Linked DNA regions of Homo sapiens: regions 1, 2, 4, 5 and 6 are each linked to region 3. The links are contacts of gene promoters, found by promoter capture Hi-C in human tissues and cell types (Jung and others, 2019). All regions are on one chromosome and are shown on one strand. The core of a region is centred on a gene start or on the middle of the fragment in contact, and the rest is flanking DNA. Distances in the headings are between cores, read along the strand shown. Region 1 overlaps ARID1A (AT-rich interaction domain 1A). Region 2 has its middle 19 kb from the start of PDIK1L. Region 3 holds the start of HMGN2 (high mobility group nucleosomal binding domain 2). Region 4 has its middle 13 kb from the start of FAM110D. Region 5 overlaps PAFAH2 (platelet activating factor acetylhydrolase 2). Region 6 overlaps ZDHHC18 (zDHHC palmitoyltransferase 18).

Region 1 (4,044 bases), core at 456-2,955, 280 kb before region 3:
CACATCAGAATTCATAAAGAAAGCTCTGGAGACCAAATCTCCAAATACAAAGGATGTTAGATAAAGTTAATAAAGTTCCTTTATATATTCCTTTTGAAAGGAAGCAGAATTGACATGAATATGTGACTATCACATATTCAACCCTAAGGTGAGTGGTTGACTCTCATTTAATTTTCACAATCATCTTCTGATATAGGTATTACCCCCATTTTAACAAAGAAGCAGGTTCAGAAGTGACTTGCCCAAGGACAGACAGCTATTAAATAGACCTGAGGTTCAAATCCATTATTACTTTACACTCTTTCCATAAGGTATTAATAGAAGCTTGACATGATCAAAGGCTGGGTTCCATGCTCCAATAGAGGTAAGGCCAACAACCTATATCACCAGACATGCTGCGTGATTAGCTACTTGACTCAACTGGCTAACCTCACGAGGCTCACTTAACTCCTTTATTGAAGGAAAGACTTACACTAGATAATCAAACTCTACAAATCTGTGATGCTATGTGTTCCCCTGTCCTTTTTTTTTTAGACGGAGTTTTGCCCTGTCCTCCAGGCTGGAGTGCAGTGGTGCAATCTCAGCTCACTGCAATCTCCGCCTCCCAGGTTCTAGTGATTCTCCTGCCTCAGCCTCCCGAGTAGCTGGGATTACAGACCCTCGCCACCACGCCCGGCTAATTTTTGTATTTTTAGTAGAGACGGGGTTTCACCATGTTGATCAGGTTGGTCTCGAACTCCTGACCTCAAGTGATCCACCCGCCTCGGCCTCCCAAAGTGCTGGGATTACAGGTGTGAGCCACCATGCCCGGCCCCCCTCTTTCCTAATTACTCTTGCTATAACTTTCAGCCTTTATTTCAAATCAGCCCTTTCACTGATAACCTTCAACTTCAACCTAATTTTTCTATGCTAAATTAAAGGGTACAGTACTTTTTCTCACCCCTGGGTTTTCTGTAGGGTACTTAATGTGTAAGAGGACAGAGGGCTGTGGGGAGGGTGACTTTGAATGTAGGGAAACAAGCAGAAGTCCCATGAAGGTAGAAGTCCCATGAAGGTAGGAGCCTGGTCTCTGCTGGGTATTCAAACTGAATATGTTCTAAGCCTTTTATCAATCACAAGGGTGTGGCTCACAGAGAAAAAAAAAATCAAGATATTCCTGGCCTCTAGATGGCCTCCTCTTAGGCCACTTCAAACCCTCACACTTTCCTCCTCACCCAGCACTGCAGCCACCCTTCCAAACTGCAGGATGTTTGGGTTTTGTTTAGGGACCCCACTCTCCAAGCTACAAGACGGGAAGGCTCCTTTCTAGAGGCTTTAAAAGCCAAGCAAGCTTCAACCCTCTGGCCACAGAGGTGCTCCAACAATAGGGCAACTGAGCTCTCCTTTCACACACATCAGGCTGGCTGGTTTCCCAACCACCAGAGTAGAATTGGCATTATAGGTACAACAACTAAAGGCTAAAATTGTTTTTTAGCCTTGGGAACTTCCAAGATGAAAACAGTTTTGTGGAGGCAGTGAGGAATCAGAAGCCTCCATGCTCCAAGCAGAGATCTGCTAGCCATTCTATTAAACCATCTATTTTGACCCAAGTCACAGGACTAGTTCCCTACTCTCACCCTATAGGCAGGGCACAGAGTTCCTCTGAGGCTCCTCTAGAAGCAGTGTTACAGGACTGATGGCACTGTGTTCTATCCGCCCTTTTTCTCCACTAGCCTGTGGGACCAGAGCAAGATCAGGCTATTAGTGACCAGAAAGATGCCAGACACACAAACGACAAGATGCTTGATAAATGTTGCTCAATGAATTATCTACTCAAAAGCATCCTCTTTAGACACAACCTCTATTAGTCCTCTTTCTTTCCCTTAATCTCTATTCCCCCATCCTATACCCCAGTACCTGAATTCTAGACCTCCACAAGGGAGGGGCTCTTGGGTGCTGGTATCAAGAGAATTGATTCTCCTGTTTAAAACTCAGAAGTACAACCCCGAATGGGTTTTGGCAACTTGGTAAGAGCTGTTGCTAGAACTGCAGCAGTGCAGAAAAGGAATGTCTGGAAAGGAGGCTGCCAGAGGCAGGGCTCTGTGTCACTGGAGAAATTTCAATCTAATTGTGAAAATACGAGAACGTGCTGTTCTAACCCACCTCTGCAAAATCTCTTGAGGCAGGTCTGACCCTCTGGGTGGAGGCTGAGGGCACTGCTGAGGTAAAAAGGTGGGGAGAAGAAAGACTGCTGGGCTGCTTGCATTCCTGTGGTGGTAGCCCCTGCAAACAGCGGCTGGGTCACTGCAGCAGCCATTGATTTTCCAGGGGTCGATATTCTACTCCTACAGATCTGCTCAGCCGGAGGTTTAATCACATCGAGTGCTTCTGCTCAACATTTCCCCTGTCGCTCCCCGCCGCCCCCCAACAAACAAATAAAACAAACACCAAACACAATGAGAACTGGCAAAGGATAGATGAGAAGGTGCTCCTCACAGCTGTCCCCTACCCCCGGAGAAATTCTAGGCACCAGCTCAAAGGGAGTAAATCCAAGAGAGAGCCAAAGCTACACGGGGCAGTCCACAAGACACTGCAGGGACAGACCCACAGACCCCAGAGAATTATTATTATTATTATTTTTTGAGACGGAGTCTCGCTCTGTCACCGAGGCTGGAGTGCAGTGGCGCGATCTTGGCTCACTGCAAGCTCTGCCTCCCGGGTTCACACCATTCTCCTGCCTCAGCCTCCCGAGTAGCTGGGACTACAGGTGCCCGCCACCATGCCCAGCTAATTTTTTGTATTTTTTAGTAGAGATGAGGTTTCACCGTGTTAGCCAGGATGGTCTCCATCTCCTGACCTCGTGATCTGCCTGCCTCGGCCTCCCAAAGTGCTGGGATTACAGGCGTGAGCCACTGCGCCTGGCCGAGAGTTTTCCAAAAATAAAAATAAAAAAAAAGATGATGATGATGATTCTGGAACTCCCATAGGCCGCTAACTGGTTGAAACCCTGCTTTTCAGTTTGTCACAGTCCCCATCAGGCCTGTATAATACCATGTTACCTGCCCGACCAGTCACCCTGCCCCCCAAAGGCTTCTGTCTTATCCAGTCAGTAACCACTTTTTGGCCAAAAATGTATGAAGTGTTTTGAGGGTCACTAGTTAATAGACTCAAATCTGACAAAAAAAAAAAAAAAAAAAAGAATCTGGGTCAGAGCTGGGCCTGAGTTACAGCAGCCAAGAGCAGTGCATATTTATGGAATAGGGCTGTTCTAATCCCAGCAGGAAGTAAGAGCACTGTAAAGCTAGAGAAGGCAAAGAAGTTAGGAACCCCCTACTTTCTCAAAGCCAAGCATTCCCTGTTAGGAAGGTCAACCAAACAGAGTTTGTTCTATTATGAAGATCATCAGCTATAATCTTAGAACTTGAGTAAAGAGGGCAGGAAAGGGGAGTGAGAGGAAAGGAACACAGAAAGCAAGCAGAGTTCTGGGTATGAGAAGTGTAATAAGGAGGGGGTGTTGCCTTAGGCTTCCACATCATCTGGCTCTCCTCTCTACAGCAAGCCTGGTTGCCCCTCAGAATTACAGCAACCAGAAAGCAAGCAAGGACAGCCAGGGAAGGCAAAGTTGGCACTGTGCTGAACATGGCTTAGAACTAGGGGCTGGATGGCCTCCTTGGTTTTGTAAACTCTTAAATTTATACTTGTCAGTGGTCTTCCCTACCTTAGCCTACTGGTCTATATAAAATCCAAATATTTAGGGGGAGAGGGTGGAACAAACAGATCTGAGAGTGAGAAATGGATAGAATCTTAAACCAGAATACAACCTCAAAGGACTTTGAAAAGAACAACTCTGAACACAAGGGAGCTATAATCAAGTTCTAGAAAATAAGAGGGATAAAAATCCAAATATTCTTGATAATGGTTCCTCTGAACATTGACCTATATTATTTGTTTGTTTTTCAGATAGGGTCTTGCTCTGTCACCCAGGCTGGAGTGCAGTCGTGCAAGCATAGCTCAATGCAGCCTCAAACTCCTGGGCTCAAGCGATCCTCCTGCCTCAGCCTCCCA
Region 2 (4,218 bases), core at 1,521-4,020, 340 kb after region 3:
ATGGGAGCCAATGGCGGTAAACAGCAAGTTTTATTGAAGTAGCAGTGTACAGCAGCAGCAGAAGTACTGCTCCTTGTAGGGCAGGGCAGTGCCCAGAATAGCAGCTCAGAATATGTTCTTCACTCATATTTTTAGCCCACTTTTAATTATATGCAAATTAAGGGGTGGTTTATGCAGAAATTTCTAGGATAAGCATGGTAACTTCTGAGTCGTCAGGTCATTGCCATGGAAAGGGGTGGTAACTTCCAGGTGTTGCTATGACAACGGTAAACTGACATGGCACACTGGTGGGCGTGTCTTATGGAAAGCTGCTTCCATACAGGGACCTGTGTTAACTAGTCCTCAATTTGGTCTGATGTCCAAGCCCTGCCTCTGGAGTCGAGTTCTCCTACCTCACCACCACACCCAGCTATAATTTTTTAAATTTTTTATTTTGTAGAGATTGGGTCGCACTACATTGCCCAGGCTGCCCAGTGATTCTCAACCTAGGCCTCCCAAAGTGCTGGGATTATTGGTGTGAGCCACTGTGCCTGACCTCTCCATCACTTTTGAAGGACAACTTCACAGGGTACAGGATTCTAGGTTAGTGGGTTTTTTTCTCTCAACACTACACATTTTCCTACACTTGCTTCTTGCTTGCATGGTTTCTGAGAAGTTGAGTGTAATTCTTATCTTTACTCCTCTATAGGTAAGGTGCTTTTTTCTGTCTGACTTCTCTTAAGATTTTTTATTTTTGATTTCCTGAAATTTGAATATGTCTAGGTATAGTTTGAATATGTCTAGGTGTCATTTTGTGGGTTTTTTGGCATTTATCCTGCTTGGTGTTCTCTGAGTTTCCTGGATCTGTGGTTTGGTGTCTGACATTAATTTGGGGAAATTTGACTGGGCATGATGGCTCATACCTGTAATCCTAGCACTTTGGGAGGCCAAGGCAGGCAAATTGCTTGAGCTCAGGAGTTCAAGACTAGCCTGGACAACATGGCGAAACCCCATCTCTACAAAAAAATACAAAAATTAGCAGATGCCTGTAGTCCCAGCTACTAGGGAGGCTGAGGCAGGAGGATGGCTTGAGCCCAGGAGGCAGAGGTTGCAGTGAACCGAGATCGCACCATTGCACTCCAGTCTGGGTGACAGAACCAGACCCTGTCTCAAAAACAAAAAAACAAAAAAACAAAAAAATTGGGGGAGATTCTCAGTCATTATTACCTCAACTATTGCTTCTGTTCCTTTCTCTCCTTTTTCTCCCTGTCATAGTCCCATTACATGTAGGTTATACCTTTTATAGTTGGCCGACAATTATTTGATATTCCGTTCTTTAAAAAAATTTTTTTAGACGTTTTCTCTTTGCTTTTCAGTTTTGGAAGTTTGTTTTGTCATATGTTCAAGCTCAGAAATTCTTTCCTCAGCCATGTCCGGTCTGCTAATGAGCCCATCAAAAGCATTCTTCATCTCTATTACAGAGTTTTTGATTTCTAGCATCTTTTTGACCCTTAGAATTTCCATTTCTCTGCTTACATTATCCATCTGTGTGTGCATATTGTCTACTTTTTCCATTGAAGTCCTTAGCATATTAATCACAATTTAAAAAAAAATCCCTGGCCTGATAGTTCCAGGATTCTTGCCATAACTGACTCAGATTCTGATGATTGTTCAGACTTTTCAAATTGTATTTTTTGCTTTTTAGTATCCCTTGTACTTTTTTGTGAAAGGTGGATGGAATGTACTGGCTAAAGGAACTGCCATAAATAGGCCTTTAGTAATGTAGTAACATTTGGGGATGGTGGGTGTTCTATAATCCTATGATTTGGTCATGGGCTTTTCATAGGTGAGCCTGTGCCCTTGGACTGTGAACTTCACCAGTGCTTCTCTTGGTGAAGTTCCCTTAGGTGGTCAGGATGGCTAGAGGGGGCTGGAATACCCTCAGATAGGTTAGGGTCAGCTGATAAAACCACAACAGATGAGGCTGTGGTAAAATAGTTGCTCCTGAGGGTTGTCCTTGTTAAGAACAGAATGTTCAGGCAGGTTTCAAAATGGTTCCTTTCCCCCTCCCGTTAGCAGAAGAATGAGCACCTGTGAGGATCTGGCAGAGCTCCTGGAGGTAATAGTGTGGGGAGCCTCCTGTGATTGGGTCCCCCTGGGCTTTTTAACTCTCAGAGTTGACCATACTAAGCAATTCATCAATTACAGTTTAGGTTTTCCTACCCCTGCACCTTTTCCACACTAGTAAATTGTGATATTCTGTATCTACCAATGCATCTCTCCAATTACAGGGGCAGCAGTTTGCCCTGTGACCTCACTGCTCTGACATATCTAAGAAGAGTGGTTGATTTTTCCATGTGTTCAGCTTTTTAATTGTTGTTAGGATGGAGTGGTGACTTTTAGGCTCCTTTTGTGCCAAACCAGAAATTAGAAGTCCTAATTTTTTTTTTTTTTTTTTGAGTTGGGGTTTTGCTTTGTCTCCAGGCTGGAGTGCAGTGGTGCGATCTCGGCTCACTGCAGCCTCCAACTCCTGGGCTCAAGTGCTCCTCCCGCCTCAGCCTCCTGAATAGCTGGGACTACAGGCATGTGCCACCACACCAGAACCCCCAGCTAATTCCTTTTTTTTTTTTTCCCGGTAAAGATGAGGTCTCATTATGTTGCCCAGGCTGGTCTTGAACTTCTGGACTTAAGCAATCCTCTTGCCTTGGCCTTCCGAAGTGCTAGGATCACAGGCATGAGCCACTGTACCTGGCCCATTTCTAATATTTTTAATTGGCTGGCAGACATTTTGAATTTTATATTGTTGAGAAGTGGAATTTTTGGACTCAAGTATTTTTGAGCTTTGTTCTAGCACATTATGTTACTTAGAAAAAAATGTATTTTGTTAAATAAAATGTATAGGAGACCATTATTTTGGACTAGCCTCGTACACTAGCACTAGCAGACCGAGCCAAATCAGAATGGAGTCACTCATGCTGGGTGCCACATAATTAAACTGAACTCTGAAACAGGCCAGTCCACCCCCCACCCCGCTACCAAAAAAATACCCCCAGGAGATTCGCAGCAACCAATCAAAAGGGGCCCAGTTTACCTGAGCTGGCATGAAAATGAAGTTCCCTCTGTTTTTGTTGTTGTTGTTGTTTTTAATTTTTAAATTTTAATCTTTTTATTTATTTAGAGACTGGTTCATTTTTGCTAAATTGCTTGTCTTTCCGAGTTTCATAGCAGAGTTTTTGGTCTGTTTAAATTCATTATAAATAGACATTTAGGATGTCAGCTTCTGACCTCATGGACTGTGAGCTTACAAGTCCCCTGGTCTGTCACAGGCCATGCATATGAGGAATAAAAAATCAAAACATTTAAGTAATTTTGTTATAAAGAAATATAGTTATGCACCCCAAACACAGAAAACATTTCATTAAAAATTGGTCTTAGTCCTGCTGGGCGTGCCAGTGATTCTTTTAGGTTTGGACCTTGACTGAGAGAATTTCCAGTCGCTCTCTCCTCTCTGGGCAGAAGTTCCAGATCCTCTCTGGGCAGAAGTTCCAGATGATCTGATGGGCAGGGACTTAGGCTGTGTCCCCTGGGGGCTCTGGTCCACTAGTTGTTGGGACCGCCTGGGAGGGCGCAGCAACCCACTACGCCTGTGTCTGTTTTAACTCTATAAGGAAAGTAACTTTGAAACAACCAGACAATTTTCTGTTCTCTGTTTCTGCTTTTCTCAGGCCTTTTCTGTCTATAAAACCATACTTTTCTGCTTGGCTTATCGGAATACTCACTGTATTTTATAGAATAAGGTGTTGCCTTTTTCTAGAATCACAAAGAAAAGCCAATATAGATCTTTAAATCAAATTTGCTATAATTTTGTCTGTGTACCTTTCAAGACTTACTTTTAAGCTTGGATAGACAGGTCCAGAATAGCTGTTAGCCTTGGCCTCACTACTGAGACAATACTCTTCTGTGATGCTCTGTATATTGGAAGAAGGTCTTTCTGTTCTGGCTGGTGGAAATATCAATTATTCTTGGTCCTGTGTGAGCTCCAGGATTGTTCTGCCTAATCCTTTCAGGGGATCTTTCCTGCATTCAGGTCTGATAGTTTCTTCATAAGCATGACTGATTAGTACTTAGCTGATACTGTGTGTGTGAATGTGAGTGTGTGAGTGTGTGTGTGTGTGTGAGAGAGAGAGAGAGAGAGAGTGTGTGTGTGAGTGTGTATGTTTTCTTTAAGGCAGGTCTTGC
Region 3 (3,970 bases), core at 1,347-3,846:
TTTGCTCCCAGGCCAAAGTTCAGGTTTCAGGTACTGAGACTCAGTATTTCTTCTGAGAATGACTTACTAGGTAACTTTGCTAAGTCACCTCTCCTCTGGGCCTCACTGTAAAATTGAGGTAGGAAGAACACCAGAATAAGAGACCTGAGGTTACTCCTAGCTTGAAAACTTCATGTAGTATAAAACACAATGCCCTTCAGCTGACAGTAGAGATTTCAAGAATCCAGGATTTAAGTTAACAGGAAAGCCACAAGCACACTGGACCAAATGGTACATTTGGAGTGATACAAGAAAAGGGCAATTAAATTTTTGATATCAGCAACTAACTGAATGAACAAATCTAACAAAGGGTGAAACAGCAGTTATACCTGGTCTGTTTTGGCATCTCCATTTTCTGCAGGGTTATTCCCCTCCTTGCCAGCATCAGCTTTTCCCTTTTTCCCTTTGGGTACCTTCTCTCCCTTCTGAAAAAGGGGAAAAAATAGAACTGTTTCTCCCCATTTCGTATTACCAAGGTATGGTCTGCAAAGTTCTGCACAAGGTAGGATTGTTTACTCAAGATAAAACACAAACCCTCACCCATTTGACAAGAACAACTGATCAAAACTAGGCTAAATTATCTGTAATTTGCTATAATCTTTAGTACTTAGAATTTCCTAAGTAACAGAAGAATAAATTAGTTTAAACCCTGGGGTATTTAATATTTAAATGCAGATTTTCCTATAAACTAACAACAGAATTCTTGATCAGGAAACCAACGTTATGAATGACACGGACGAGGTAAGCTATCCACACAGTTTATAACCTCCATTAATGGAGGCACCATTATGCTAATTAAGTTAAGGCACTAAGGACAGTCCTCATTCTGTGAAAATGATCAGTTCCAATGTTAGCACTTACCTTTGCAGGGGCCTTTTTAGGCTTGGGCTCTGGCTTTGGAGGAGCAGGTTTCTTTTTTTGGCAGGAAGAGAGGAAAAAGTGAACATCAGTACAATGGACTGAAGAAAACCACCCACAACCAACCAAAAGTACCAAGGGTAGAGAAGTTTCTCCTCCTCCTCAAAAGTTTTTGTGGTTGGCTTTCTTCTAGAATGTTGGATTTCCAGAAGCCCACTCAAATGTCCCACTTTGGCTACAGGCATCAGAATTTCAGAACCAGCAAAACCCAAAGGGGCAAGAGTCCCAAGTAGAGGCAATGATTCAAAACCAGGCACTAACCATAATTCATGGAAGCAAAGGGAATTGTTTTTTGATGTTTTTTAGTTTCAGGGACAAGCACGAAAATTCAAAAGCATACACTTACAGCAGACAACCTCGCGGATCTTCTCTGTGGCTATTAAAGACAACGAGAAAGTTAGAAATAGGACAGGTAAGTCGCTTTGAAAGTTTGGTATCAATTTGCTCTAGATTATAGGAGTGTAAATTCAGGACACAGGTTACGGTTAATCACCGAGTCCAGTGGCCTCTGCTAGTCCAAGGCTTTGACCCTTGAAGAGAGAATGACTTACTTCGTCCTTCACCTTTGCTTTATCTCCCTTAGCATCCCCTTCAGCCTATAAGAAACAAGAACAAAAAACTGCAGATTTTGAGGTGGTTCTTAATTACTTCCCAAACTTTAGAGTGCTAAAAATGAAAATTAAAGCAGTCGTCCACACAACTTTTCTAGGACATAAATGAGTGAGCCCGACGTTCGTATAAGAACGAAGCGCGCGCAGGAGCTCCGGCTCGCCGACCCCGAGAAGCGAGGGCTGGACCGGAGCGCAGCCGGGGAGGGCAGCGGAGCCCGCACCACCGCGACAGGCAGGAGCAACAGCTGCAGATGGCGCAAACAAACCCCCTCCGGAGGCGGAGCCCAGCGCCGTTGCTATGGCAGCCGTCGAGGGCGGGAGAGGGAGGCGCGCGCAGCCCGGGGAACTCGTGGGCGGCGACAGCGCGCGTCTCGTGCGCGGGGAACGTGGGCGAGGGGGCGGGGCCATACCGCACAAGCCCCGCCCCTCACGGCGGCGGTTTTTTGGCGGCAGCGCTTTCCCCCGCCCGCCAACCCCGAGCGCCGCCTTCCCGCCCTTTCGGGTTTGAATTGCCCGCCCGCAGGGAGGGGAGGGAAGGGGCCCTCGCGATGGGGGAGGGGGCACGGGGCGGGGGCGGCGAGCCCGAGGAGAGCGGGATAAACAGCCGCCAACATGGCTCCTCCCGCCGCGGCCGCCGCTCCTCCAATATGGCCTCTGGCGCCCGCGGGCAGCCGAGCCGCTCAGGGTTAGCCCCGAGCTGCCCGACACCGTCTCCAGCCCCCGCGCGGGGAGGCTGCGCTGGCTCCTGCTCGGCGCCGATTCTCGCTCCCTGCACCAGGGAGGCGGCGGCGGCGGTGGCGGCAGTGGTGGCCCGGCGCCTGGGGCCCTCGCGCCACGTACCTTTCTCTTGGGCATGGTGGCGGCGGCGACGGCAGCGGGACGTAGGTGCTGGACGCGGGATGCAGCGGCGCGCGGGCTTTGGTCGGTCCGGGGGTCGTTCTCGCCTCTTCTTCACACTGCTCGGGCTCCGGGGGGTTTATAAAGTTTTTATAGCGCTGGGAGCCCCGGACCGGTTAGAACCGGATTTCACCTCCCGCCGCCGTTCATTGGCCCAGCTGGGGTCACGTGGGCGGGGTTTAAACTCACCTCCTCTGGAGGGAGTGAGGAGGGGGGTGTGTGGGGGGGGTAGTGCGCGGAGACGGCGGCGCGCCGAGGGGGTGGGGGCGCAGTCGGGGTGGCGCGCGTCGAAGGCAGTAAATGAGGAGGGGTGCGCGAGTCGGCGGGCTCCGGGTTCCGGCTCCCGCCAAGAGCTGTCTTTTGCAAACTAGCAAGTTCCTTCCACCTTATGCAACCCAGCAACCCACTTCTCCAAGCCGTGCGACACTCACGGCGCATCTCAGCGGCTTTCCTTCCTGCTCCCGCTGGGGGCCCCAGAAGAGGGGTTTGCGAGGCCTGGCTGCACTGCCCTGCTCCTCTGGAAGCAGGAGGAAGCGCGCGGCTGGAGGCACAGGCTGCAGTTCCCAGAGCCCAGGCTGACGCCAAAGTGGGAAAAAGGCGGGGAAACCAGCTTGGCGCAGCCGGACGTGCATCCTTCCGAGCTGCCACTTCGGAGAAGCCTTTCGTGCACCTCACCTGAAAGACGGTCCCACTCGAGGTGGGCTAGGGGTTTCAGGGGGAGACTTTCCATGCAGAGGTGCCTTTTGGGTGCCGTGGGTCAGGTAGGAGCTGTCCTTTCAGCACCCGTTGCGCAGCCGCCTCCCCAAATGCTATCGAAGCCCCCACCCCCAACTCCTCTCGGGTGGCTCCCTTAAGGTCCCTGTATTCCCAAACCTCCAGACCCCGCCACAGTATGGTGGAGAGCGGCCGTCGAGGTCTACCAGCACTCACTTCCCCCTACACTCTACCCCTCTCGGAGACATTTTGCCCAGCTGCCCAACCCGACGCGGCCACCAAGCCTGGGCACTGCAGCCGCAGCTGGCGAAATCCCTCCTTCCACACTGTCAAGCTGGCTGCCTTTCACTTGCGCGAGGAAAGGAGGGTGGAGGAAAGCGCCCGGGGATTAGGAAACAAGTAGAGGAACAGGTGGTGTGATGGCAAAAGGGCTCTTCCGGTGCCCCCTAGTCCAAAGCCAGGGTCTTGGAGCTAGCCAAGTGCACCTGAGGGAGGGTAGGCAATTGCAGCAGCAAAAGAAGGTGTTCTTCCGTTGCAGTTAGCAAACAAGTTTTACATCTAAGAATCTTTAAAAATTCTATTTGAGACCCAGCACACAAGAATACGATAGATGTCCTCAAATGGGGGCTTGGCTCACAGGTGGAAGGACACTAAATTGGTCCCATCTGATTTCTTGAGGCAAGGGTTGAACCTGGCTTGCACAAATCACACCTGTCCAAAGCAACCACGAGTTCTACTATTTTGCAGCCCTTGCTGCTGGGCGACGACGACGACCTCTCTGCCTCTTCTTT
Region 4 (4,613 bases), core at 953-3,452, 330 kb after region 3:
CCGTCCCCTCTTGCCTGGGACTGTAGTCGTCTCTATTATTTTATTTTTATTTGTTGAGATGGAGTCTCACTCTGTCACCTGGGCTGGAGTGCAGTGGTTCAATTTTGGCTCACTGCGACCTCCGCCTCCCAGTTCAAGTGATTCTCATGCCTCAGCCTCCTGAGTAGCTGGAACTACAGGCACCCACCACCACACCCAGCTAATATTTGTATTTTTAGTAGATGTGAGGTTTCATCGTGTTGGCCAGGCTGGTCTCGAACTTCTGACCTCAAGTGATCCACCTGCTTTGGGCCTCCCAAAGTGCTGGGATTACAGGCGTGAGCCACCGCACCCAGCTGTGGTAGTCTCTAGTAAGTCTCTCTCTTTCTAACCTCATCCTGCATAGAGTCTATTCTCAATGCCACTCTAGATCAATTCTTTAAAAATATATCAGTCATGTCACTTCTCTGCTCAAAACTCTGAAAAAGGTTCCCCATTTCACTCGAGATAAAGACAAATCCTTAGCAGCCTGCAGGCTTCCCGTGGCCACGCCCTGTGAGCTCCCTGCCCTCCCCGCCTGCCATCCTCCCTGTCCAGATGCACATGTCTTCCTTGTCTGTTCCTCTAACACAACAACCACGCTCCACCTGGGGGCCTGTGGACTCTGCTAGGAATGCTTTTCCTTCAGTTACGTGCTTTGCTGACTCCTTCCCCTCCTTTAAGACTTGTTTTTTTAAGAGAGTCTCGCTCTGTAGCCAGGCTGGAGTGCAGTGGCGCAATCTCGGCTCACTGCAACCTCCACCTCCCGGGTTCAAGTGATTCTCCTGCCTCAGCCTCCCAAGTAGCTGGGATTACAGGTGTGCACCACCACACCCAGCTAATTTTTGTATTTACCCAATGCCATGTTTACATGGTCTTTGTTCAGGCTGGCACGGTGGCTCATGCCTATAATCCCAGCACTCTGGGGGGCCGAGGTGGGAGGATCACTTGAGCCCAGGACCTTGAGAGCAGACTGGACAATGTAGCAAGACCCCATCTCTGTTTTAAGAAAATGAAGAAAAAAAGAAAACAAAAAGATAAAGGTCTTTGCTCAGCCGATGCTTTGGAGTGAGGATTGCCCATCAGTGTCCCACTTTGGGTCAAAAGGCCAGAACTTGGTACTCTCATCTCCCTCAATCACCAGAGGTGGTCTGCCCTGGGAAGAGCATGACCTTGGGGAAGGCGGATCTCAGCAGCTGAGGCAGACCCTGAGGGAGGTGATGGCCATAGGCAGTCAGCTGCCTACTCTCCCTGCAGATGGGCAGCAGGCCCTTCCTTGGATGAGTAAAAAGAAGTACAGGAGAAGAAAAAAGGAGAAGAAGAAAGATGTACAGGAAGAAAAAAGGAGTACAGGAACCAAGGGGTGGAAGGAAGAGTGACCCCACTTACTGTTACTCCAGTGGCCCAGAGGGAGACTTTGTACTTGCCAGCCCTGCAACTCTGGGCTCTGCAGGGTTAGAGGTCCTGGTCCTACAAGGGGGCACATTTTTCCCAAAAAGATATGTATTGAAGGGCTGAGCATGGTGGCTCATGCCTGTAATCCCAGCACTTTGGGAGGCCGAGGTGGGAGGATCACTTGAGGCCAGGAGTTCAAGACCAACCTGGCCAAGATAGTAAGACCCCCATCCCCCTACCCTCAAAAAAAAAGAAAGAAAAAGAAAAACAGATCTGCATTAAATTATAACCAGTGTCTACCTCCTGGGTGCTCTGAGCTGCTTGTGTCCAGGACTAGCCATCAAGAACAGGGGTCGCTGGGTACAGTGGCTCATGCCTGTAATCCCAGCATTTTGGGAGGGTGAGGTGGATGGATCACCTGAGTTCAGGAGTTCGAGACTAGCCTGGCCAACATGGTGAAACCTTGTCTCTACTAAAAATACAAAAATTAGTCGGGTGTGGTGGCGCGCGCCTGTGGTCCCAGCTACATGGGGGCTGAGGCATGAGAATCCAGGAGGCAGAGGTTGCAGTCAGCCGAGATCACACCACTACGCTCCAGCTTGGGCAACAGAGGGAGACTCCGTCTTAAAAAAAAAAAAAAAAAAAAGAAGCAGGGTCTTGGCACCCCTGTCTTGGCATTGGCACAGGTGTTTCACCCTGATTATAAATAGGAATAAGGCTGCTCTTATACAGTGGGGGCAAGAAGGATCCCTGTGGATCCAGGGTGATCTGCTCAGGTGCTTCTTGGTGTTCCTTTGTTCCACTATAACTGCAAATGGACAGGTCATGCAACTCTGGCCTGAGAAGGGCGTGATGACCAGGGGCTCAGGCTTCTTGGGGATGAAGGTCTGGATCCCACCACCACGTGAGCCACTGAGGCCAGCAGAAGTGGCAGCTGAGGGTGAGGGGAGTCTAGAACCAATGGAGGAGGAGGGAGATGAGGGCCATCACCTGCAGCCCCAGGACGGACTGCCGTGGTGGGGGCTGTAGTTCGTCCCACTGGCGTTCCTCCACTAAGTTCCCTCTTGGGAAGAGGGCCAGAGGAATTCTGAAGGGGCTGCGCCTTCAGTGTGTATGGGCGGGTTCTTGTAGACAGCAGCTTTCAATGGTGTCCACTGCTGCCCACTAGTAGGGGGTGCAGTTAGCAGATGGCCTGCCGCTGTCACCTCCTTCAGGGTCTGCCTCAGTGGCTGAGAGCCCACTCAGCCAAGCTCCCACCCTTCCTAGGGCAGCCTGTATCTGGTGATTGAAGGAGGTGGGGTGTAAAGGTCAGGCCATTCCAGTTTAATGCAGGACACGCAGATGGACAATAGTCACTCCAGACCTTCGAGCCTGGTCGGTTGAGCTAGAGAGGCCACGCTTGCCATTCCTAGTGATCTAAAAAGGATAGGTCACTGGGAGATGGGAGTCCAAGCCTTGGCTAGTGGTGCACTGTGGGGACCTATGGTAAATTGCTTACCGTTTAAAGACTGCCCCTAACGGAAGGACTCTGAGTTTAGGTGAGCTTGGCACCATGAGGCACAGGTCACAATAATTTTGTTTCCAAAATTATCCCACCCTACCCCAGAAGATCTGCAGAAAGCAAGACCATGGGATTGGGGAGATGTGAGACTCAGATTGAGGAACGGTTTCCCCAAGGACCTCTGGAAAGCTCGTCTGATTGAGTTTGAACAAGGGTTATCCACCAGAGGGCGGGCTTCACCCTCCAAGAAGCTTTCCTGATACCACTTCGCCCACGGGCTCTTCCTGAGCTTCACTAGCATAGGGGGCCGCCCCGCTGCCTGGTCTTGCTGCGCACACCTGGACATCCTCAGAGCTGCTGTTTCACCTGGGGACTGCTCAGATGGTTGCTTACCTTGACACTGCTGCTTGTAATACCAGTTAACTGATAAGAGCAGCGATTTCTGCGTTTATATTGTTCTCTGTAGTGTATGAAACATCTTCACATACATTATTCTCATTTGGTTTGCAAAGCAACTTGAAAAAATAATTTATTATTATGGCCACTTTTCAGAAGAGGTAACTAAGGCTCATAGAAGTCAAATGGCTTCACCAGTCACAGAGTATGTTCCTGCTGCTGCTATCACTGACATTTATTAAGCACTTGCTATGTGCCAAGGATGATGTTAAGGGTTCACTTATTTAATTCTACAGTAATAAAGACAGTGAAGTGTTGACAGGCAGTGTTAATTAAATGTGTGCCAGTTTAGAAATATTATCTCTTTCTCTGATGAATGGAACTTTTATCATTAGGTAGAAACTATCTCTAGTGATGCTTTTAGCTTCAATATAGCTATTTCATCCTCATTTTTTTTTGCCAAGTATTTCTTTTTCTAAACTTTGCCAATCTATGTCCTGATATTTTAGATTTGTCTTTGTAAACAGAACATATTAATAGTGGATTTTATTCTTTTATTTAGTCTGACATCCTTTATCTTTGGAGAATTTAGCCCACTTGTAGATATTGCTATATTTTTATTTATTTCACTCATTTGTAATGTACATTCTATTTGCTGTACTTTCCCTTTCTCTTAAAAAAAAAACTACTTTTTTTTTAAGATGGTGTCTCACTCTTGTTGCCCAAGCTGGAGTGTAGTGGCGTGATTTCGGCTCACTGCAACCTCTGACTCTTGGGTTCAAGCGATTCTCCTGCCTCAGCCTCCCAAGTAGCTGGGATTACAGGCATGTGCCACCATGCCCGGCTAATTTTTGTATTTTTAGTAGATACGGGGTTTCACCATGTTGGCCTGGCTGGTCTCAAACTCCTGACCTCAAGTGATCCTCCCACCTCGGCCTCCCAAAGTGCTGGGATTACAGGTGTGAGCCACCGTACCCAGCCTAAAAAACACTTTTTTAAACATTGATTTTTTTCCCCACTGTTAGTTTGGAGGTTATTGGTTCTAGGTCTGGTTTTTTTAATGGTTATCTCAACAATTCTAACCTAATGATGAGTCTGTTTACTGAGTTTTCCATTTCAGTTAGCATAATTTTTTCATTTTCAGAAATTGTATTTGGTTCTTTTGGAAATTTACTTGCTAACACATAGTATCAAGTCCTTTCTTTCTTTCTGTCCTTCTTTTCTTTTTTTTTTTAATGAGACAGGGTCTCACTTTGTCACGTAGGCTACAGTGCAGTGGTGTGATCTCGGCTCACTGCAGCCT
Region 5 (4,558 bases), core at 1,828-4,327, 480 kb after region 3:
CCAGATAATGGATGTGGACAGTGATCAGAGATGATAGGAGGAAAGGTTGGAAGGACCTGGGAAAGCTTCACAGAGGACTAGAGATTTCACTGGGCCTCAGTGGATGGAGAGGCTTCTGGACAGGTACTACCATGAACTATTTAGACAAAGTGAGCAAAAGAAGGTAGAGACACATAGACTGATTTCCTTGGAAAATTCCATGACTTTTATTAGAAATGACTCTGGATGCTTTGTGTAAATGTCTCTTTGGCAAAATTTGCAACTCAGATTGGATTTTTCCATCTCTCCATCCTATTTGGACATCAGTCAATGTGAGTCCAGGAAATAAAGATTCATTTGCGTGTTAGCTTCACTCTGGCCAATTAGCTTCTGTAATTTTTATTTCCAAACAATTTAGTTGATGATCTTCCCAGAAACTTTCCAGGAGCACCAGAGAGTTCTGCTGTCTTCTGTTTGGCCATTTCCAAGTCCGCTTATCCTGATTCCTATCCCAAGTGCTGTTCTCTATGCAGAGTGAGACAAAAATCTGTTCCCATAAGAAGCTTAAGGACTATTGTCCTGGTTCCCCAATCTTAAAACCTGACTTATTGGCTCTTGACTCCCCAGATTCACTCAGTGGCCAAACCCTAGTGTTTCTACTTTTCACTCAATCAGCACATTTCTTGGATGCTTCCTAAGAGTCAGGTACCACACCAGATGCTTTGAATGCATTATTTCATTTTATTTCCACAGCAACCCTGTGAGGATGGATAGTGTTCCCATTGTACAGATGGGGAATCAAGCTTAGAGAGATCAGATAACTTGCATAAGATAAGAAAGCTAGGCAGGGCTGGCACGGTGGCTCACTCCAGTAATCCCAAGCACCTTGGGAGGCTAAGGCAGGATTATCGCTTGAGCCCAAGAGGTTGAGACCAGCCTGGGCAACATGATGAAACTCCATCTCTACAAATAAATACAAAAATTAGCCGGGTGTGATGGCAAGTGCCTATAGTCCCAGCCACCCAGGAGGCTGAGGTGGGAGCATCACTTGAGCTGGGAGGGTGAGGCCACAGTGAGCCACTGCACTCCAGCCTGGGAGACAGAGCAAGACCCTGTCTCAAAAAAAAAAAAAAAAAGCTAGGCACCAAATGAGCTGGGCCTCCAATGTGGTTCTTTCAGACTATCTCTCATGGACATGACCTCATTTCCAGAGTAGATTCCAACTTTTTAGCTTAGCACTTGAGGGACTGCTCCTCCCCAAATCTGGTCACAACTTTCTCTTCTCACCTTGCGTTGTTTCTCACACAAGCTTCCTTCTTACCGTGCCTTTGCTTGCTCTCTCCTGCTTGAAAGAGCCTTTCCCATCTTCCCCTGCTCTCTACTTCCAAGCTAAAGGAGCACTGTTTCTTCTCAGAACTCCTGTGGTCTTTTATCTGCTTTTCTTTTATGACAGTTGAACTTGCAGCTGCTTCATTGTCATGTGAGTGACAGGTGTCTTGTGGCCCCAGCAGTAGGTCTTCCATTTGCAGACCTCAACAACAAGCGATGGGGAAAGGTCAGGGTCTCAGGCTAAGCAGAGCTCATCCCCCTTCACTCTGGCTGAACAACCCACTGACATCAGGAGCTTAGCTTCTTTTTCAAAAGAATTGGGTTTGTTTTTAAATTTGCTAAAAAGAAACAAAATGAAGATGCTATCTGTAGTAGAAAGAAAATAATTTCTTATCTTTCAAAGTTAAATAGAATGATGTTAGGATTGTTGAGACCAGACAAGTGGCAGCTGACAACCAGGAGACTGTGTGTTGTTATCATCGTTCTGCTTGTGACTCTGAGCAGCTCACTTAATCTCTCCGGACCTTGGTGTCTTCCCTGGTAAAGCACGTGTATGTACGCGGAGAAGGGGAAAACGATTGTGGAGGGGATTGACGGAAATGCTCCCTTAGGTCTCTTCTTACCCAGACATGCTTTGACTGGAACTCCTGAATCCCTCCCAGAGCATCTTAAAGGAAGCAGAATAATTTAATCATTAACATGTGGACCCCAGACTCAGTGTGTATCCATTTAGATGCTTTTGGTTACAACCAAAAGAAATCTAACTTCAGTTGGTTTAACCAAGAAAGGGAACTTACTGACTCATGTAACTAGAAAGTCTAGGAGTGGGTCAGGTTTCAGGTATGGTCTAATCTGTGGATTCTTAATGTCTTCACAAATGGGCCTCTATTTCTCTGTGATTCTTCTGGTTTTCCCATCCACCATGGGTATCTTCATCCTCAAGGTGGCAAAAGTGGCTGCTGTGGTTCAAGGCCACTTGACAGGTGACATCTGCACATCACACTAGTCCAACACAGGAAATAACTTTTCTCCCCTCAACCGTCATACCAAAGTCCCGGGTTTTACGCCTATTGGACCAACCTAATGCCATACGCGCACTTTTCATCCAAATACTGACCGGAGAATAAGAAGGACTGATTGGCTCCGGTTAATTAAGGCTCAACTCCGGAGGTTAAGGAGGGGTCAGCCCCACCCAAATCACAAGGCAAGGGACACTGGGAAGTTTGACATTCTCATGTTACAACCACATTGTCCATGATCGAATTCTGGCTCTGCTCGCCATATGTTATTGGGTAAATTGCCTTTGTCAAGCATCTGTTTCCTCATCTGTAAAATGAGATAATAATACGTATCTCAGAGGACTGTTGAAAGAATTAAATAAAATAATATGTGAAAAGCACTAAACATAGTTCCTGGCACAGAGTAAGTATGATGATGATGGTGGTGTTGGAGATGATGAAACTGAAGAGGGTTAGGGGAGCACTGGCACCAGTTTAGGAAGCAGCTGAGCCGTAGGAATGTTATCTAGTCAGGAGTGTGCATGCCTGTCATGCTGAAAGCATCTGTTTGATCTACTGCCCACATCATACTTTTCCCTACCTCTGCTTTTTTTCCTCTTAGGATTTTTTCTATAAGTGCTTTCTTCCTCCTCCCCTGCCTCTCAACTTCCTCATCTTTAAAGGCCCAGCATAAGTGCTACCCCATATTCAGTAGTTTAAAAGCTGGGTGTGGTGGCTCTTACCTGTAATCCCAGCTACTTGGGAGGCCTAGGCAGGTGTATTGTTTGAGCCCAGGAGTTTGAGACCAGCCTGGACAACATAGCAAGACCCTGTCTCTCAAAAAAATCAAACGGTTTTAAGAAAAAGCTTAGTTCAGTAACTTTGCATCTGTATAACTGAATCTCCCCCTGAGCAGGATCAGTAATGGTTAAGAACTTAGCTTCCGGATTAGGCAGAGATGGGTTTGCCACTGGGTAACTTGGGAAGGTTATTCAACCTCTTTATGCCTTAGTTTCCTCATCTGTAAAACAGGGTCTTTTGTTTGTTTGTTTGTTTTTTGAGACAGGGTCTCACTCTGTCACCCAGGCTGGAGTGCAGTGGTGCAATCTCGGCTCACTGCAACCTCTGCCTCCCAGGTTCAAGCGATTCTCTTGCCTCAGCTTCCTGAGTAGCTGGGACTATAGGTGCCTGCCACTGCACCCGGCTAATTTTTGTATTTTTAGTAGAGACGGGGTTTCGCCATGTTGGCCAGGCTGGTCTTGAACTCCTGACCTCAGGTGATCTGCCCGCCTCGACCTCCCAAAGTGCTTGGATTACAGGCGTGAGCCACCGTGCCTGGCCAAAACAAGGTCTTAATAGTACCTACCTCAGGCCAGGCGCGGTGGCTCACGCCTGTAATCCCAGCACTTTGGGAGGCCAAAGTGGGTAGATCACGAGGTCAGGAGATCAAGACCATCCTGGCCAACATGGCGAAACCCCGTCTCTACTAAAAATTAAACAAAAAATTAGCTGGGCATGGTGGCACGTGCCTGTAATCCCAGCTACTCAGGAGGCTGAGGCAGGAGAATCGCTTGAACCAGGGAGTCGGAGGTTGCAGCGAGCAAGATCATGCCACTGCACTCCAGCCTAGCAACAGAGCGAGACTCCGTCTCAAAAAAAAAAGTACCTACCTCAGAGAGTGGTTGAGACAATGAAATGATGCAATGTGTATAGTGTCTATAAAGAGGTCAGTACAGTGCTAACCGTAAATAATGGATCTTAGTGGTTACTATTAGCCTCAGGAGAGCAAGGTCTGTGTGACAGTCTCTGCAGCAGTAGCTGCTGGATAAACATACGTTAATGGGCTGTAAGGAGTATGGATGGCTCTCTTTCGTCTTCCAGCCATCTCCTCACCCTAGCAAAATAAAAAACAACCCCCAACCTTGGCAAAGGCAATGTAGCAAAGTAGTAGGTGCAAGATTTAATGAGCGACGGCAGGGAGGATGAGGTGCTAAGGAGGGGTGGACAGGGTAACAGATAACACATTTCAGCAACAGGAAGCCGAGAGGAAACCAGCAAGCGGCTGCTGTTCTGTGTTCCCCCATCCAGCCAGCAAGTTCAGCTCCGGCAAGTCATTTGATTCACCCGGTGATGAAATGGGGGTCAACCAGTCTGTGGGCTTTCCACCTGTCACAGGACCCCACCTCGTAGGCTGTGGGGATGTGATGGAGGGTCAGAATCTCCAGGTAAGTGTCCCCAGCTCCCTTTCTTCT
Region 6 (4,125 bases), core at 1,618-4,117, 390 kb before region 3:
GCTGAGGCAGGAGAATCGCTTGAACCCGGGAGGCGGAGCTTGCAGTGAGCCGAGATGGCGCCACTGCACTCCAGCCTGGGTGACAGAGCAAGACTCCGTCTCAAAACAAAACAACAACAAAAAAGTGAATATGTATTGTTTGTCTATGAGATACAGAATAGACTAGTATCTTTGGAATCAGACTGCCTAAATGTAATTCTTATAGCTGTTTGTGGCCTTGGCCAAGTGATTTAAGCTCTGTGAGCCTCAGTTCCTGTAACTATAAAATGGGACTTGTGAGGATTACACGAGTTAATGGAAAGCACAGTAGAATGGATGGCAACTATTATTATTATTATTTTCTTTTTTTTGAGACGGAGTTTCGCTCTTGTCACCCAGGCTGGAGTGTAGTGGCACAATCTCAGCTCACTGCAACCTCCACCTCCTGGGTTCAAGTGATTCTCCTGCCTCAGCCTCCCGAGTAGCTGGGATTACAAGGGTGCACCACCACACCCAGCTAATTTTTGTATTTTTTTTTTTTTTAAGTAGAGATGTGGTTTCACCATGTTGGCCAGGCTGGTCTCGAACAGCTGACCTCAAGTGATCCACCTGCCTCAGCCTTCCAAAGTGCTGAAATTATAGGCATAAGCCACCATGCCCGGCCAGATGACAACTATTATTATCATGTGAAAAAATCCCGTCAACTTTATTATGATCAACATATACTCACAAAGCACTAACATAGAGTTAGGTTCTGTGAAATGAGGAAGGACCCCAAGCCAGGACTTAGCCAAAGGCCAGACCTTCCCAGCTGGGTGTCTACAGGGGAGAGGAAGCAGTTTGCCCATAGCCTTCTCTCTCCAGATGGATGAATGGCCAGATGTGCTCAGCACTGCCTCCTTCCTCTCCATCTAGGACAGGCGTGTCCAATCTTTTGGCTTCCCTGGGCCACATTGGAAGAATTGTCTTGGGCCACACATAAAATATACCAACACTACCAATAACTGATGAGCTAAAAAAAAAAAAAAATTTGCAAAAAAATCTCATAATGTTTTAAGAAAGTTTACTAATTTGTGTTGGGCTGCATTCAAAGCCATTCTGGGCCACATGCAGCCTGTGGGCCGTGGGTTGGACAAGCTTGATCTAGGATATTCCTGTGACCTCAGCAGGTCCTGGAACCTCAGGGGCCTTCATTTGTACTAGTCATCCAGCCGGGGCTTCCCCAAGTCCTGGGGAAAGCTGGAGATCCCAGGACACTGGGAACCTGGAAGGCAGGCCCAGGAACTTTGGAGCCTGAGTCCAGGGAGGGACCATTTGCTTCCCGCCACTTAAGCCAGAGGACCTGGTGGTGGTTCACGCCCTCCGCATAGCCATGAGCAAGGGCAAGGAAGCCCCTTCATTCCTACTCCTCCCCTGCTGGAGCTCAGGGGTGCATCTGGGAGCCAGGCTGCCTGATACCTCCTGCCCGCTCTGGCCTGTTGATCCTGACTCAGTTCCTGTCTCAGGTACCTCCCTTTGCCTCTGGGCCTCCATTTCCCAAGTTCAGGAGCTCAGACGGGCAGGAGGCAGCAGGCCCTGGCAGGGCATGGAGCTCCACAGTCAGCTGTCTGAGTCAGCAGGACAGGAGCTGGGGTTGCAGCTCAAAGGGGCTTTCCTCATTCTGCCTGCTACCTCCCCACCCTCCTGTACAGCATCCATTCTACCAGCAGGCTCAGGGGCTCTGGCCCCATAGTCAACCAATCCTTCTTAGCTGGTAATAATAGGCTTTGAAGGGTTGTGATGAAGAAAGCAGCAACCATTTGCTCTCTACCTCCACTGAGGACAGAGGACAGGGCTCTGATAGCAGTGGGAGGGACACCAGGTAGATTCTAGAAAGAACTTCCTAAGAAATGTTTCTGTCTTGGAATGATCAAATTAAACAGGTGGCCAGAGGAAGCTCTAGCACCTTTTCCCACTGGCTAGTTGTGAACAAGAGTCCAGTTACCTAGCCAAGAGCTTACTTTACTGGTTACCTTTGGGAAGGGATATTAAATTATTTTAATTATTTTTGTGGCTCCTTGTGGAGCAGGGCGACCCCATAGGCAGTGTGCCCAGAGTAGCTTACATTACTTTTAAGTGATTCGTAGTTCTGATTCTTTTTCTCTTGAAGGCACTGCTGTTTAGAGTATCCCACATCTAAACCAGTCCAGTCTAGAGACAGTGCAGAATTTATGGAGAGAGAATGGAATGAGGTCAGAGTGTGGGACTGCATCCCAGCTCTGTTATAAGGCCTTGGGCAGGTCCCTTCCTGCCTCTGGGCTTCAATTTCTCCATCAGTAAAACAAGGAGGCTGGCCCAGATCAACTCTAAGCCCTCTACTGGCTATGACATTCTCTAATTTTAGGGTTTCTCCAAGATCTCATCCTCCCACCGCTGTATTCATTCCTTGGGTAGTGCAGATGGCTCAGAGCTCGGGGCAGAGATCAGGTTCCGATCTGGGATTTGCTGCTTTGCCAGCTGGGTGACCTTGGGCAGCTCCTGTTTCTTCCTTGAGTCTCAGTTCCCTCATCTGTAAAAAGGCTGACATCATCCTCCTCACAGGTTAAGATGAGAAAATGGGCCCGGGACTCGGCAAGCCCTTGCTGAACGGTAGCGGTAGCTATTTTTTTAGCCCATAGTACAGTGTATGCACATGTGTGTATCTTGATGTAGTGCAGCAACTGGGGAGAGAGAAGTTTCCATGAGATCGTTACCCTGGGCTGGGCTCAGTTCATGGGTATGGCAGTCCCAAACTGGAGTTAAACCCTCTGTCTCAGCCTGCACTGGGACCTATCAGAATCCAGAGGTCAGCTAAGGCTGGGTGGTGTCTGGAATTGAGACCAAGAGTTCTGGAGGGGCAGAGTGAAAAGGATGTCAGCCACTTTTCCTGTGTCCCTCCTGGCTTCGTTGTGCTTGTAAATCTCCAGAGCAGCACTGGCCAGCTGGAAGAAAGCTGGGAGCGAGGGGGAGCCATATGTTCCACACGCCCACTGCAGGTCCCATCCCTGGGCCCCAAAGTAAAGGCGCCACCAGACAGCCAATGGTATGGCAAGAAGAGGGGAATCTTTATTTTGGTTAAAAAAAAAAAAGGTACAGGATAGCAGACAAGCAGCCCCCAGCCCTGGGCTCAGCTGATTTTCCTTGGCTCAGCTCTTTCCTTTAGTCCCCTGAAGTGTATGGGGCTGTGCACGGCTAGCTTGGTCCCTCAGTGCCTAGAGCAAAGGAGGCACGCACCCTCCCTACATCCTACCTACTCTGGTGGAGGGTTGGGGGTGGGAGGTGGACAGGCCGTGGGAACAGTATCAAGCCAGTTGTGCTTAGAACAGTCACCAAACTTGTTCAGCAGCGTCATCCACCATCAACACCCCAGACAGCTCCTGAGGAAACCTGCTGGGCTTGACTATGGCTATGCCTGATCTGAGGGGGTGGAGGGGCAGGCTCTAAGGCCAGATTCCTAGTCTTGACACCTCACAAATCCGGGAAGGGGAAGTCAGTGGAGGAGAGAGGGAGCATATCAGCGTAGAGTCACATTATTGTGCTGATGGCTGCGTTATGGCTTTCTACACTCTGGCCGGCATGGAGCGGGAATGGGGCAAAGAGGCCAGCCCCTGCCCCCTATGGGGGTCCTAGAGAGCACACAGGCCGGGCAGGCTGGGGGGCAGACCCTGTAGGCACAGATGGTGGCAGATGGGCCACAGGTTAGGCAGGTGGAGGTGCCGGGTGCCTGGCTCCCCCCAGGCCATTCCTGGAGAGGCAGAGAGCAGCGGTCCTCAGGAGGTCCTTAAGCCCCCGCACACACTGGAGATCCCCGGCAGGACAGCAAAGAAGGAGAAGAGAGAGGGTTAGCAGGCCTGGGAGGAGGGAGGCGGCCTGCAGGGGCCCCGGTGGTGGGGAGAGGTGCTGCCACAGCACCTGCCTCTGCCCGAGAGAAGGGCCAAGGCTTAGGCAGCAGGCAATGAAGCAGGAGAGAAAACGGGCGGGTGAGAGAAAGCTCAGCGGGGACAGAAAGCCAGGACATAAGAGTGTTAGTGACCGGTGGCCCCTGCATACCAGGACCCCACCAGCACAGACCCAAGCACCTCAGGGCAGGTTCGCCATCCTCTCCCCAGCCTCACCCTCCACCTCCTC

Evidence for each region. Contacts are between HindIII fragments. The study calls those that stand out against the background at their distance.
Region 1: a fragment that was not itself captured here is called in contact with the fragment with the promoter of HMGN2 in region 3 in 1 of the 25 tissues and cell types used here (dorsolateral prefrontal cortex).
Region 2: a contact is called between a fragment that was not itself captured here and the fragment with the promoter of HMGN2 in region 3, in 2 of the 25 tissues and cell types used here (IMR-90 fibroblasts and lymphoblastoid cells).
Region 4: a contact is called between a fragment that was not itself captured here and the fragment with the promoter of HMGN2 in region 3, in 1 of the 25 tissues and cell types used here (hippocampus).
Region 5: a fragment that was not itself captured here is called in contact with the fragment with the promoter of HMGN2 in region 3 in 3 of the 25 tissues and cell types used here (adrenal gland, hippocampus and spleen).
Region 6: a fragment that was not itself captured here is called in contact with the fragment with the promoter of HMGN2 in region 3 in 1 of the 25 tissues and cell types used here (neural progenitor cells).

Annotation. Positions count from the first base shown.
Region 1 is chr1:26,747,742-26,751,785 of GRCh38, reverse strand. All of the region lies in intron 4 of ARID1A (AT-rich interaction domain 1A), which reads right to left. Among named protein-coding and RNA genes, the nearest start is that of PIGV, 38 kb to the left of the region's middle. The HindIII fragment of the contact is 4,216 bases long and covers 1-3,813 here.
Region 2 is chr1:26,128,725-26,132,942 of GRCh38, reverse strand. No RefSeq gene overlaps it. Among named protein-coding and RNA genes, the nearest start is that of PDIK1L, 19 kb to the right of the region's middle. RefSeq lists a silencer at 3,991-4,218. The HindIII fragment of the contact is 7,689 bases long and covers 1-4,218 here.
Region 3 is chr1:26,471,066-26,475,035 of GRCh38, reverse strand. HMGN2 (high mobility group nucleosomal binding domain 2) reads right to left here and starts at 2,596. Exons shown (of 6, transcript NM_005517.4): 1 at 2,409-2,596; 2 at 1,509-1,553; 3 at 1,304-1,333; 4 at 901-951; 5 at 369-464. The coding sequence starts at 2,423. DHDDS (dehydrodolichyl diphosphate synthase subunit) reads right to left here. Exons shown (of 9, transcript NM_205861.3): 9 at 3,730-3,970. RefSeq lists silencers at 1,872-2,041, 2,082-2,371, 2,632-2,901, 2,786-3,201 and enhancers at 2,571-3,280, 3,281-3,970. The HindIII fragment of the contact is 14,054 bases long and covers 1-3,970 here.
Region 4 is chr1:26,143,823-26,148,435 of GRCh38, reverse strand. No RefSeq gene overlaps it. Among named protein-coding and RNA genes, the nearest start is that of FAM110D, 13 kb to the left of the region's middle. The HindIII fragment of the contact is 8,228 bases long and covers 1-4,613 here.
Region 5 is chr1:25,990,700-25,995,257 of GRCh38, reverse strand. It overlaps PAFAH2 (platelet activating factor acetylhydrolase 2), which reads left to right. Exons shown (of 11, transcript NM_000437.4): 2 at 4,395-4,531. The coding sequence starts at 4,442. Among named protein-coding and RNA genes, the nearest start is that of PAFAH2, 5.1 kb to the left of the region's middle. RefSeq lists an enhancer at 1,176-1,687. The HindIII fragment of the contact is 7,134 bases long and covers 1-4,558 here.
Region 6 is chr1:26,856,518-26,860,642 of GRCh38, reverse strand. ZDHHC18 (zDHHC palmitoyltransferase 18) reads right to left here. Exons shown (of 8, transcript NM_032283.3): 8 at 3,039-4,125. Among named protein-coding and RNA genes, the nearest start is that of SFN, 4.6 kb to the left of the region's middle. The HindIII fragment of the contact is 5,523 bases long and covers 106-4,125 here.